3 separate regions of the Homo sapiens genome follow, and regions 1 and 2 are each linked to region 3. Evidence: promoter capture Hi-C in human tissues and cell types (Jung and others, 2019). All regions are on one chromosome and are shown on one strand. Each heading gives the region's core, a stretch centred on a gene start or on the middle of the fragment in contact. The rest is flanking DNA. Distances are from core to core; before and after follow the strand shown. Region 1 holds the start of TPM4 (tropomyosin 4). Region 2 overlaps RAB8A (RAB8A, member RAS oncogene family). Region 3 holds the start of AKAP8 (A-kinase anchoring protein 8).

Region 1 (3,607 bases), core at 756-3,255, 700 kb after region 3:
CAACCCTCATGACCTCACCCAAACCTCATCATCTTCCAAAGGCCCCATCACCAATTACCATCACATGGAGATGAGGGCTTCAACACATGAATTGGAGAGGGGGCAAAAGCAAGCATTCAGTTCATTATAGGCTTATATTCCAGAAGACCTGGGCTCAAACCCTGTGCTGTGTGACCTGGGGAAAGTCATCCCACCTCTCTGAGCCTCCTGCTGTGGGGAGGAAGCAGGAGAATGAAGCTGGGCTCAGTGGGGGCTGTCTGCCCACCCTGGGAGCAGGAACAAGATCAGTGTCAAACCATCTAAGGCAAAAGTCAGATCCAAGCCAGGTGTGGCGACTCACGCCTGCAATCCCAGCAATTTGGGAGGCCGAGGCGGGCAGATCACTTGAGGTCAGGAGTTTGAGACCTGCCTGGCCAATATTGCAAAACCCTGTCTCTACTGAAAATACAAAAATTAGTCAGTCGTGGTGGTGTGCACCTGTAGTACCAGCTACCGGGGAGGTTGAGGCAGGAGAATCACTTGAACCCAGGAGGCGGAGGTTGCAGTGAGCTGAGATCGTGCCACTGCACTCCAGCCTTGGTGACAGAGCGAGACTCTCAAAAAAAAAAGTCAGATCCAGGCATGAGCTGGATATGATCACCCTAATCCAGAGTTGGGGGCCCAGGGAGGGAGTTTCAGCCTGGAGGTGACAGAAAAGTCTTCTTGAGCCAACTCTAGACCGGTGTGGTGGGGGGTGACAAAGAGAGGTGATGGGGTCTGTGGTTTGTAATCCATAGGCCTGAGCTTCTCAAACTAGGAGTGATGGGAGGATAGGACTCTTGGGATAAACAGAGGACTGAAAATTTAGGGAAAGTAGGGGACATTTTTATTAAAATGAACATGGCCTATATGCAAAAATTTTAAAGATTTAACCCGAGCCTTCAAAGAAAGTGATCCTGTAGGGGCGAGTCTCTTCTAGCCAAGCTCCCCAAAGCCCAGAAATGAGGGACTAGGTCTGAGCCCTTCAGCCCTTCAGAGTATTTTGGTAAGACAGTCTAAGAACCACTGCCTTGGGCCATAGGGAGCCATAGCAGGTTCTAGGCAGAAAGAGGGCAGGCGTATTTGTTAGAAAGTTTCTCTGACCCCGTGTTGGGGTCAGAACCAGAGGGAGAAAGGCTGGGGACAGGGATGGGCGGAGGGATCCACGCGCAGAGAATGAGATTGCTTAACTCCAGATCATGGTGAGGCTGCACCTCTGAAACTGGAATGTGTGTATTTCTGGAAAACATTTGGAGTCTTCAGTTTCCCAAAAGCTGCCATTGATCTCCCTAGAGTACTGGGGACCCCAATAAGCCCAAAACAGCTGGTCCTCAGGACGAGGGAAAGATGTGAAAATCCCACTATCAGGTAGCATGGATGGCGTGGTGCATGCTATCGCAACCCCTGTTCTACAGATAAGGAAACTGATGCCCAGAGAGAGACGGAGGACTCTTGTGAATATTGGGGGGGACCGCCCCTGCACCTCGGGGACGTGACCCCCCCCCCAGGCTGACCCGTTCCTCGCTCTGTCGTCCCCAGGTGGAGGAGGAGCTGACGCACCTCCAGAAGAAACTAAAAGGGACAGAGGACGAGCTGGATAAATATTCCGAGGACCTGAAGGACGCGCAGGAGAAGCTGGAGCTCACGGAGAAGAAGGCCTCCGACGTACGTGTGCAGGGATGCGGGAGCCCGCGGCGGGGCCAGGCCGGAGCCCCGGGGCCGGGAAGGCGGGGAGAGCCGCAGGGGGAGGAGGAAGAGGAGGAGGAGAAGGCGGCGCCTCCCAGCGCTTTCTCCAAATAAGTCCCGAAAAGGGGCACTTTCCAGCAGCTGTGGCCAGCGGTGCCGACGTCAGGCCCTCCCCCAGCGGTGCTGACGTCGGCGGTCCGGCCGGGTGACCTCATCGCCCCGACGGCAGCCGGCCCGGGGGGCGGGGAGAGGCGGGGGCGGCCCCCGCGCAGGCAAAGGCTTGGGGGGCCGGGGCGCGGCTGTGCAGCTCTCGCCGGAGCCGAGCCCAGCCGAGCGTCCGCCGCTGCCCGTGCGCCTCTGCGCCTCCGCGCCATGGCCGGCCTCAACTCCCTGGAGGCGGTGAAACGCAAGATCCAGGCCCTGCAGCAGCAGGCGGACGAGGCGGAAGACCGCGCGCAGGGCCTGCAGCGGGAGCTGGACGGCGAGCGCGAGCGGCGCGAGAAAGTGAGCGCCCCGGCCTCGGGCCCCGCACCCGCAGCCTCCTCCCCCGCGCGCCCTCCTTTCTTCCCGGCTTCCCGCGCTGCCCGCCCGCGCGCAGTCCTCGGGCCGCCTTTTTACGCCCTCGGACGCCGATCGCCGACCCACATCCCTGCGCCCGCAGCCAGGACCCCCTACTTCCTCCGCCGTCCTCCTTCCTGGGCCTGGGACAGGGGAGGGGGCGCCGCCTCCGGGTCGGGCGGGGCCGGCCAAGCGGGAAATGGGGGGATGGGGCGGAGGGGGTGAGCGATCTCCGGGTGGAGAAGTGGAGCGGCGGGAGGGGGCGTATCGTGCAGGCTCCGACTCCGGGGCTGGCGCCGGGGTCCCGGGCCGAGGGGAACCCGCGACCGGACTTGTGGGGGAGAATGAGGATGAAAACGTGGAGCTTCCATTGTCTAGGGTTTGACCGGCCGACAGGGATTTCGACGGGGGACCGGGGATCTGGGGAGGGGGTCGCACTTTCTCGCCTCTTTCGCGGCTTCCCGGCTTCTGCTTGCTTCCCTGACCGTTCCCAGGGGCGCGGCGGCGACGTGTCTGCTCCAGGCGGCGGGGGGGATGGGGGGTGGAGGAAGTTCAGCCCCAAGCCGCCCGCCTTTCTCCAGCTGATTCCTGCGGGAACCGGGGCGGCGGGACCCTGCCTCTCTCCAGAAGGCCCCGGGAACGCTGGCGCGGGGCCCTGAACCCACGATCGTTTGAGCGCCTGCTGTGCGCCTCCGCCGCGAGTCGCAGGGCCCGAGATAAACAATGGGTCTGAAAAAGGAGGGAGTTTCACCATCCTCTCTGCATCATCCTCCTGGCTGTCCCTCGGGACAGATGGTGGCACCGCCAGGGTCTGGGGACAGATTTGGATTCTGGTCCCATATCATGCCACCCACAGGCTTCATGACTTGGTATTTGCTCTCTAGGAGCTTTTTTCCCATCTGCGAGTAGGACTGATAAGAATCCCGACCCCCCAGAGTAGCAGGGAGGGTCCCAGGAGTAAATCTCAGGCGTGGAGCCTGGCGCTTTGTAAATAATCAATTGTGTTGTTGTTTTTTGTTGTTTTGTTTTTGAGGCAGTCTCACTCTGTCGCCCAGGCTGGAGTGCAGTGGTGCGATCTCGGCTCGCTGCAACCTCCACCCCCCGAGTTCAAGAGATTCTCCTGCTTCAGCCTCCCGAGTAGCTGGGATTACAGGTGCCCGCCACCACGCCCAGCTAATTTTTTTTTTTTTATTTTGGATTTTTAGTAGAGACAGTGTCTCACCATGCTGGCCAGGCTGGTCTCGAACTCCTGACCTCGTGATCTGCCCACCTTGGCCTCCCAAAGTTCTGGGATTACAAGCGTGAGCCACGGCGCCCAGCCTCAATTGTGTTTTCTCTGCCCTGG
Region 2 (3,829 bases), core at 653-3,152, 750 kb after region 3:
GCAGCTGTGTCCTCATCTCTGTCAGCATGCTCATAGACCCTTGGGCCTCAAAATCCCAAGTTTGGGAAGCATTGGATGCCTAGAGACCCATGGTGAGGTTTGCCCAGACGGGGCCCTGGAAAATAGTCACTTGGAGCCCTGAGGGGTGTTTCCAGGAAAACCTGGAATAGGATGGCTGGCTCAGTGTTTTCCAGGTGCTTCTGCTTGATTCTAAGAGAGAGCTCTACCCACTGCCCCACTAACGTCCAGGTTCTCCCCTCAGCTCCCTGAAATAGGTATAATCCAGGAATTTGAGTCTTAGGCACATGTCACCAACTTAGTGGTGAAGGCAGGAATCCTGGGCTTTCAGAGGGTCCAGTCCCCGGATAAAGGGCCCCACGCCCCCTGTCCCTGACCATGTCACAGTCACAGGGTGTGCCCACCGTGGATGGGGCATGGCAGACATCATGGGCCACTGCAGCCTTGAGGTTCTTCGCCATGGTTGCGGCTGACTGTGAGGCCATTATTCATGTCCCTGAATTCCCAGGAGGATTTGGGGTTGCAGTGACTTTCTTGCCCCATCTGTGTCGTTTTTGTCCCACACTCTTGCACCCACATCTGTCTCACCATTACCACATGGCCCGTGTCCTTATTCTGCAAACTTGGATGGCCCCAGACAACTTGGCCAGCAGCAGAAGTCATCAGTGCCCTCAGGTGCCACAGATGCAGGGCTGGGCCTGGGGAGCAGGTAGCGAGGAGGAAGGAAGAAATCCAGGCCTGGCCATGAGCAGGCCACGTGCCTTGGAGCCCAGGATGCCCGGCAACAAAGGGGGACTTGTGATGGCACTGCAGGCTGGCCCGCTGTGGGCACTCCACAAGGACATCGAGAACCACACAGACCGTCAGAGGGTGGCCCCCACATGTGGGTTCTGGGGCTGAAAAAGGCCCAGGGATATTGCTGAGAGGATAGGTGTCATCAGTGCTTTTGGAGTTAGCCCCCCCCCGCCCCCCGTGCTTGAATCTTAAAGGTCACGTCTCTGTGCCTCAGTTTCCCCTTGCATCGCATGGGCATGTTTGCGCTTGTCCACAGCAGTAGCGAGGCTGTGGACCCAGGCTGAGGCGGGGCTGCCCCGAAGCTCTTCCAGGACCCACGAGCCGTCTCCCAGTTGCTCACGTCTAGGTTAGGGAACTGGAAGGGCCTTGGCACTCTCGGCTCCATCTTCACACAGCCGGTTCCCTCTGTGGTGGGGTCACTGGAAGTTGTGTGGATGTCGGGTCAGGACTTCCTGGGCTCAGTTGTGCCTGGTAGGTGGCTCAGGCAGAGCGTGGGGTGAGCAAGGGGTGAAGAGGAGGCCGATTGCAGGGGAGGGTCAGCGTGAGGGGAGTGCTGCTGGCAGTGGGCCTGTGGACCGGCTCCCACCGTCAGGCTGCACCACCCCGTGGGCCATGAGGGGAGCCAGCCGGGCTTGTCAGCGAGTGCGTGGCAGGGGCTGGCCTGTGAGGCAGAAGGGTCACCTCAGCGGCCCGGGGGGCAGGACAAGGCTGGTGCCAGAACCCAGCAGAAAGAAGGGCCACAGGGATGGAGAGGAGGGGGCTGGCTTCCGGGGCTCCACAGAGGTGGGGAGGGCGGCAGCTAATGGGCCTGGCTGTGCAGTGGGTGCTGGGCTCCCCACCACTGTTCTCTGGTGCCGCTGAGGCCTCCCTTCCAGAGCCTGCAGCCGATCAGGCACCTGTGTCTTCTCTCCCCGCGCAGGGCATCATGCTGGTCTACGACATCACCAACGAGAAGTCCTTCGACAACATCCGGAACTGGATTCGCAACATTGAGGAGGTGAGGCCCTCCGGCTCCTCCCACTGTCCCTGCTTCAGTCCTTGTCCCAGAGCCCTCTGGTTTACTCATGAGAAGGCCAAGGTGCAGAGACACATACAGGCCACTTGCCCACAGCCTCCTAGTCAGGGACATGGTGGGAGCAGGGACTGAGATGCAAGCAGCCGGCCCCAGGGACCACACACTGGCCTGGCCCCACCCCGGAGCCCCTCGGAGCCCATCCCTCCAGCTAGGCTGTTGGATCTGGCCAGTGTCATGGTTATAAGAGAAAGGATATCCAAGCTTGTGGTCACCATGAGTGTTGGGTGCTTTCTAGAGAAGGAAGGGTCTAGCACAGGTGTGACCCTTGTAGTTGGAGGGTGTGGTGAGCAGGCGTCAGTTGTACTTTGAGCTATATCGGAGCAGGGTGTGACCTGGTACAAACGACCTGTGTTCAGACCTTGAACCATAGAGCAGTGAGAAGTAGGCCAACCCCTCCTCCCCTCCCAAAGCCAGCATCTTCATCTTCTGCTCCCCAAAGAGCTGACCTCACCCCCAAAGCCTTCCTGGCTGCCGGCACCTGCAGCTTTCTATAACTAACCATGTGGGGCTTCAGGTCTGAGGCACAGCCAGAGAACTTTTCCCATCTATAAAACCACAGCAAAAGGGCATATCACTGTCCACCCAGGACTCATGGACCTCCCAGGCCAGGCCGAGAGGCCACCCCATCATTTGTGAGTCATTGCACTGGGCTCACCTCCCCAGTGACCCTGAGAGGGCTGTGCTGCCAAATTTGCCAGTGCAGGGCTGCACCCCAGCTGGGAAAGCTGTCTTCATCCGTGGAGAGGAGGAGAGCCTGGTCTTTGTGAAAGGTCTCTGTTTCTGGCCAGCGGGCAGGAGCCACCTTCTGGTTCATGGGAAGTGAGGCAGGGAGTGGCGCAGTAGGTTCCAGAGACCAAGTCTGAGCTGGTGGAAGAAGACAGCAGTTTCCAGTGTCCCCGTCCTCCAGGAAGCGTGGTCCGCTCCATGGGGACCCAGGGAGACTTGACGAAGGAGCTGCCTTTGGGTATGAGGGCAGAGTTTGGGCAACATCAGACAGGGTGGTGAAGTGCCTGCAGCTGGTGACGGCCTCGAGTTGCGACCACCTCAGGCACGGCCTGTTTCTGGAGCCCAAAAATAGTTGAAATGTCAGGGCCAGGCGAGGTGGCTTATGCCTGTAATCCCAGCAGTTTGGGAGGCTGAGGCGGGCAGATCACCTGAGGTCAGAAGTTTGAGACCAGCCTAGCCAACATGGCGAAACTCTGTCTCTACTAAAAATACAAAAAATTAGCCTGGTATGGTGGCAGATGCCTGTAATCTCAGCTATTCGGGAGGTTGAGGATCGCTTGAACCTGAAGGCAGAGGTTGCAGTGAGCCGAGATCATGCCACTACACTCCAGCCTGGGAGACAGAACGAGACTCCATCTCAAAAAAAAACAAAAAAAAAAGTGTCAAAGCAGAAGGTCCCAGGACAACAGCTGGGGCCTCTTGCAGAGGAGCCAGGGAGGGAAGGAGGAAAGCCAAGGTCGGGGGGTAAATATCTCAGCCTCACTCACCTCCCATAGGCTAGACCCGCCCAGCATCCCAGGTGCGGGGGCTTGATTGATACAGCCATAGAAGCTGCCAGAAAGCATTTCAGAAAATGTGCATTTGCTCAGAGTAGCAGCTAGAACCCTGGCCCCAGCCCTGGCATTGGCTGTGTGACATGGGGCCGGCTGCTTGGCCTCTCTGAGCTTCAGCTTGTCCCTTAGACCAGGCTGTACCTAGCAGTCCTGACCCCACCGCTCTGATTTCTGGGGACAGACTGTGTGTTGGCAGAGGCACCTGGCCTGTGTCATCCGGTCTGATCCCCCGTCTGTCCCCCTCCCTCTCAGCACGCCTCTGCAGACGTCGAAAAGATGATACTCGGGAACAAGTGTGATGTGAATGACAAGAGACAAGTTTCCAAGGAACGGGGAGAAAAGGTGGGCATGGTGGCACAAGGGGCAGAGGGCCTCGGGGTCT
Region 3 (3,955 bases), core at 283-2,782:
GCAGCAGAAAGGCAGACTGCAGATTCCAACAGCAAGTAACCAACCTCGAGAGACTGCTTCTCTGTGAAGCTCTAGTGTAAGTGGCACGCACTATTAACCTTAAAACGCTCCCGGAAACACAAGAAATCAGGGAAGCTTAACTATCTCCAGTGTGTCTGAAAGGTTTTCGGCAGGTAGGAAGAGGGGGTAAAAAAAACCTCTCCAAACTAAGAATGAAAAGAAGGAATACAATACCTGCAGAAAAGATCTGATGGGAAAGAAGGGAAAGAATGGTGAAATCTACCCAGGCTGCGGAAGACCAGGAGAGCCAGGCTGAGCCTTCGCTAGGACCCGGAAGACACCAAAGCACACCGCGCACGCTGCCGCCTCAGGACCGAAACCTCTCTCTGCAATTTCTGGTGCTGGGATACTTTTGCCCTGCCACTTCTCAAGATCGACAACTTCTCGAGCTCCTGCAGCCAGGATCAGACCACTAGCTTCTCTACAACCAGTCGAGCTCCACCCAGCATGTCCCAACTATCCCCTGTGGGCAAACTTTGCTCCCAAAAGGCTCTGATTCCAGAAGCAGGGAGCAGGCAGCTCGAGAAGATCGGCCCTACTGCAGGCCAAGCGCTAAATCCTAGTGGGGAAAGGACACGTTCCCTCCTGCACAGCCCCTCGGCCCCTCCAGGCCACCACAACAGACTGCCTAAAGGAGAACTGCCAATGTCACCAGCCCCAGGGCACATCAGGTTTCCAGCTTTATACGAACACTCAGCATCTGCCCCTCACCATCCTGTCCCAAGCCAGCACGCGCCGGGTACAGAGCTGGAGCCCGGCGAGGCTGACTCTCGCGCCGGCAGCACTCGGCCCCACCGCGCTGCACCGGGGACTAAAGGCCCGACCCCGCGCAGCCCGACGGCTTCCGGGACAGGCGCCCTGGGCCACGTGAGCCCAGCGGAGACCCTACACGGCCCCGCGGGCCTAGGGCAGGTCGGGAGAGAGGCGGCCCCCGCGGTCCGCCCGCGGCCCCAGACCCAGCTCCCCGGGTCCGACCTCACAACCCCACGCTGTAGCTCCGCCCCCCTAGCGCCGCCATTTTGTGGCGTCTTCGGAAGAGGAAGCCGGGAGTGCAAACCCCGGGGTCGCTGGGGGCCGGAAGGACTCCGCCGAAGGTGAGGGGCAAAAACGGCCCACACTGTCTAAGACGCCCCCACGAAGCCCACCGCGGCGTCTGCCCCAACCCCGAGTCCCGCCCGCCTCCTCGGGGCCTGGCGGCCAATCCGCACGCAGAGCCCCGGGAGCGACGGCGCCAAAGCCCAATGAGCGGCGCGCGCGCGCCCTGGCCGCCTCTCCGGAGGGCCCAGCTGGGGCAACCACGCTCGGGACGAAGGCCCGGCCGGCGGCAGTCTGCGCAGCGGCTGCGTCGCCCGCACAGAGCCTTCCCTCCCCGCTCCGCACCCAGCAGCCAACACAAACCTCCGTAGCCCTGGTCCATGTCTTCGACGCGGCCCACCAGCAGCCCCGTTTACTAGGCGACCACAGCACGCATGCGTTCAGCGCACCTCCGCCATCGACTACTGGAAGACCAGGCGCACACGTCACTACTTCCGCGCGCCCCCATTGGCTGGTCTTCACGAGGGCCCGCCCTCGCCGTCCCAGCTGGCCTTTCGGGCTGCTACGATCCAGCTCCGTGGCCTAATGGGAGTTGTGGTCCCACCGCGGTGCCCGACGGCCCGGCCCGCGCGCATGCGCACCCCGCCCCTCTGCCCACCCCGCCCCGCCCGCGCGGCACAGTAACAGAGAAACCCGGAGGTGGGATGGGAAAACTTTATTAGGTTTGGTTTCCAGCTTCGGCCACGCGGGCTCCGCCCGCCCCGAGCTCGGGTCACGGGGCGCCCCCGCCGCCCTCCTCGTCGTCCTCCACGTCGAGGCCCGGGATGCCGCGGATCTGGCGTTGCAGCGCCCCTCCCAGCAAGGGCACGGCGCCCTCCTCCTCCTCCTCTGGGGGCGGCGGCGGTGGCGGCGACACGGCCCCGGGGGCTGGCTCTGGGGGCACGGGAGGCTGCGCCGGCACGCCCTCTGCGCCCTCCGAGATCCCTGCCGCTTCGCCCTGCGCCCCCTCGTCCAGGGCACCGCCCTCAGCCTCCTCCTGCTCCTTCTCCTCCTCGGGGCTGTCGGTGAAAGGGTTCTCGCCCTGTGGGGAGGGGCGCGGACACTGAAGGGAGGGAGCACAGGCGGGGACTAAGCTGGGGACAGGGCAGGCCCGGACCAGTGCCTCACCTTCAGGTAGCGCTCCAGCTTCTTGCTGATGAGCTTGTTGTTGAGAATACTGCGGGCCACCATGAGGGAGGACTTCTTGGACTGCTCCATCATGAGCTGCGGGCAGGGCAGAAGGAGCTGGAGAGGCTGCTCTGAGTGCCCTACAAGTTGCTGCCCCGACCCTGCCAGCTTAGAGGGACCCCACCCCGCCCCTGCACCCACGCACTTCCAGCCCCACCAACGGAGGGCCACTCCACAAGCATGGAACCACAACCTATCTGATCTTTGTTCAAATTCCCTCTCCTTCCACACCACACTTACTGTAGGTAAATAAAAATACAGATCTATATATCTCTAACTTTACGGCTGTATTACAGAAATCTGATTTGCTTACAAAAAAGCTATAAGCAGTGAACAATTAAGAAACTAAGAGCCAAAGGTGGGTGCAACCTGTAACAAGGTGCCAACTAGGCTAATAGGCAAGGAGCACTTTGGGGCCAACGGGGAAGATATAAAAACAGGAACAGATATTTAATGAAACGTCTTTTTTAACCCACAGAATTCCAAGAATGAAGAATTATTCCCAGTCATGCAAGGGTGAAGAGAGTCTTCTCTGCTGGTGGGAGGATCAACTGTTTCCGTATTTTTTGGAAAGCAGTTTGACACAATGTATGAAAAGTAAAAATCTGTCTCATTAATCCCTTCCCAGAACGTATCCTAAATTTAAGAACTGGAAACATGCGTGCACACTGATTGTAGTGGTGAAAAATGGGAAAACACCTAAACGTTCCTCAGTGCAGAAGAGGTTAAATAAATCGTACATTCAAAAGAACATCATGCAGCCCTTCAAATCGGGCTCATCTCTGCACTGGCATAAGAAAGGTGTATAATATAGTACTGTCTGCAGAGCATGCCAGAGCCATTTTGTCTGGAAGGATTTCCATCAATATGCTGGGCCATCTCATGGTGGGAGTACAGGCAAATCTCACTTTGATCATTATAAAAACCATAAGGTAAAAGAAGGATATTTTTGGTGGGGTGGGAGAGCCCATTGAGTCCTTCCCACTCCATTTACATGTTTCAGAAAGCCTTCTCACTTGCTGTTTCTACTCTCTCCATCTTCATTTTTTTTTTTCCTTAGCACGTTTTCTCTACTACTGGAGGAAAATATTAACAGACATCATACATGCTCACAATAAACTAAAGATACACAATTAGGATACTACTATAGACCGTTCCCCCAGTGACTCTCACTTGCCAACAGTTTATCCTCCTGGTTCTAGATGCCCAGATAACCACACCATAAATTCTCCCAAGTGAGGCACATTTATGTTGCTTCCAGATCTTCTCCACAATAACCCAGCAACACTAGAATAAACTTGTACACTTCCATGCTGGTGCTTTTCATTCTAACCAGGTTTGGTTTCAAAGTGATAGTGCCCAATTAACTGCAGAACATTTGCAAGTCATGCTTCTTCCACCTGTGTTAAAACAATGACCTGGTCCTCCTGCCTGCCCATCAGCACTGGATGTTGTCACTGTTGGGTATTTTTGCTGTGGATAAAAGACAGAAGAATCTGTGCTGCTGCCTCCCACGGCATTTCCCTGCCCACCGGCGAGTGAGTGCTCTGGTAAGCACACTGGAACACCCGCCCACAGTTTATAATTTTCTAACTATTTTCTGATCTTGGTTTTCATTTTTCACATTTAAATT

What was found. Contacts are between HindIII fragments. The study calls those that stand out against the background at their distance.
Region 1: the fragment with the promoter of TPM4 here is called in contact with the fragment with the promoter of AKAP8 in region 3 in 1 of the 25 tissues and cell types used here (dorsolateral prefrontal cortex).
Region 2: a fragment that was not itself captured here is called in contact with the fragment with the promoter of AKAP8 in region 3 in 1 of the 25 tissues and cell types used here (dorsolateral prefrontal cortex).

The regions. Positions count from the first base shown.
Region 1 is chr19:16,074,490-16,078,096 of GRCh38, forward strand. TPM4 (tropomyosin 4) reads left to right here and starts at 2,006. Exons shown (of 8, transcript NM_003290.3): 1 at 2,006-2,208. The coding sequence starts at 2,077. RefSeq lists enhancers at 890-1,619, 1,620-2,347, 2,348-3,077 and a silencer at 1,656-2,565. The HindIII fragment of the contact is 17,695 bases long and covers 1-3,607 here.
Region 2 is chr19:16,123,738-16,127,566 of GRCh38, forward strand. It overlaps RAB8A (RAB8A, member RAS oncogene family), which reads left to right. Exons shown (of 8, transcript NM_005370.5): 4 at 1,733-1,810; 5 at 3,700-3,789. It overlaps HSH2D-AS1 (HSH2D and RAB8A antisense RNA 1), which reads right to left. Exons shown (of 2, transcript NR_199156.1): 2 at 1-3,250. Among named protein-coding and RNA genes, the nearest start is that of RAB8A, 14 kb to the left of the region's middle. The HindIII fragment of the contact is 7,709 bases long and covers 1-3,829 here.
Region 3 is chr19:15,378,255-15,382,209 of GRCh38, forward strand. It overlaps AKAP8 (A-kinase anchoring protein 8), which reads right to left and starts at 1,533. Exons shown (of 14, transcript NM_005858.4): 1 at 1,459-1,533. The coding sequence starts at 1,477. AKAP8L (A-kinase anchoring protein 8 like) reads right to left here. Exons shown (of 14, transcript NM_014371.4): 13 at 2,263-2,358; 14 at 1,796-2,176. The coding sequence ends at 1,868. RefSeq lists enhancers at 674-1,589, 1,524-1,818, 1,590-2,504 and silencers at 779-1,328, 1,669-2,158. The HindIII fragment of the contact is 19,214 bases long and covers 1-3,955 here.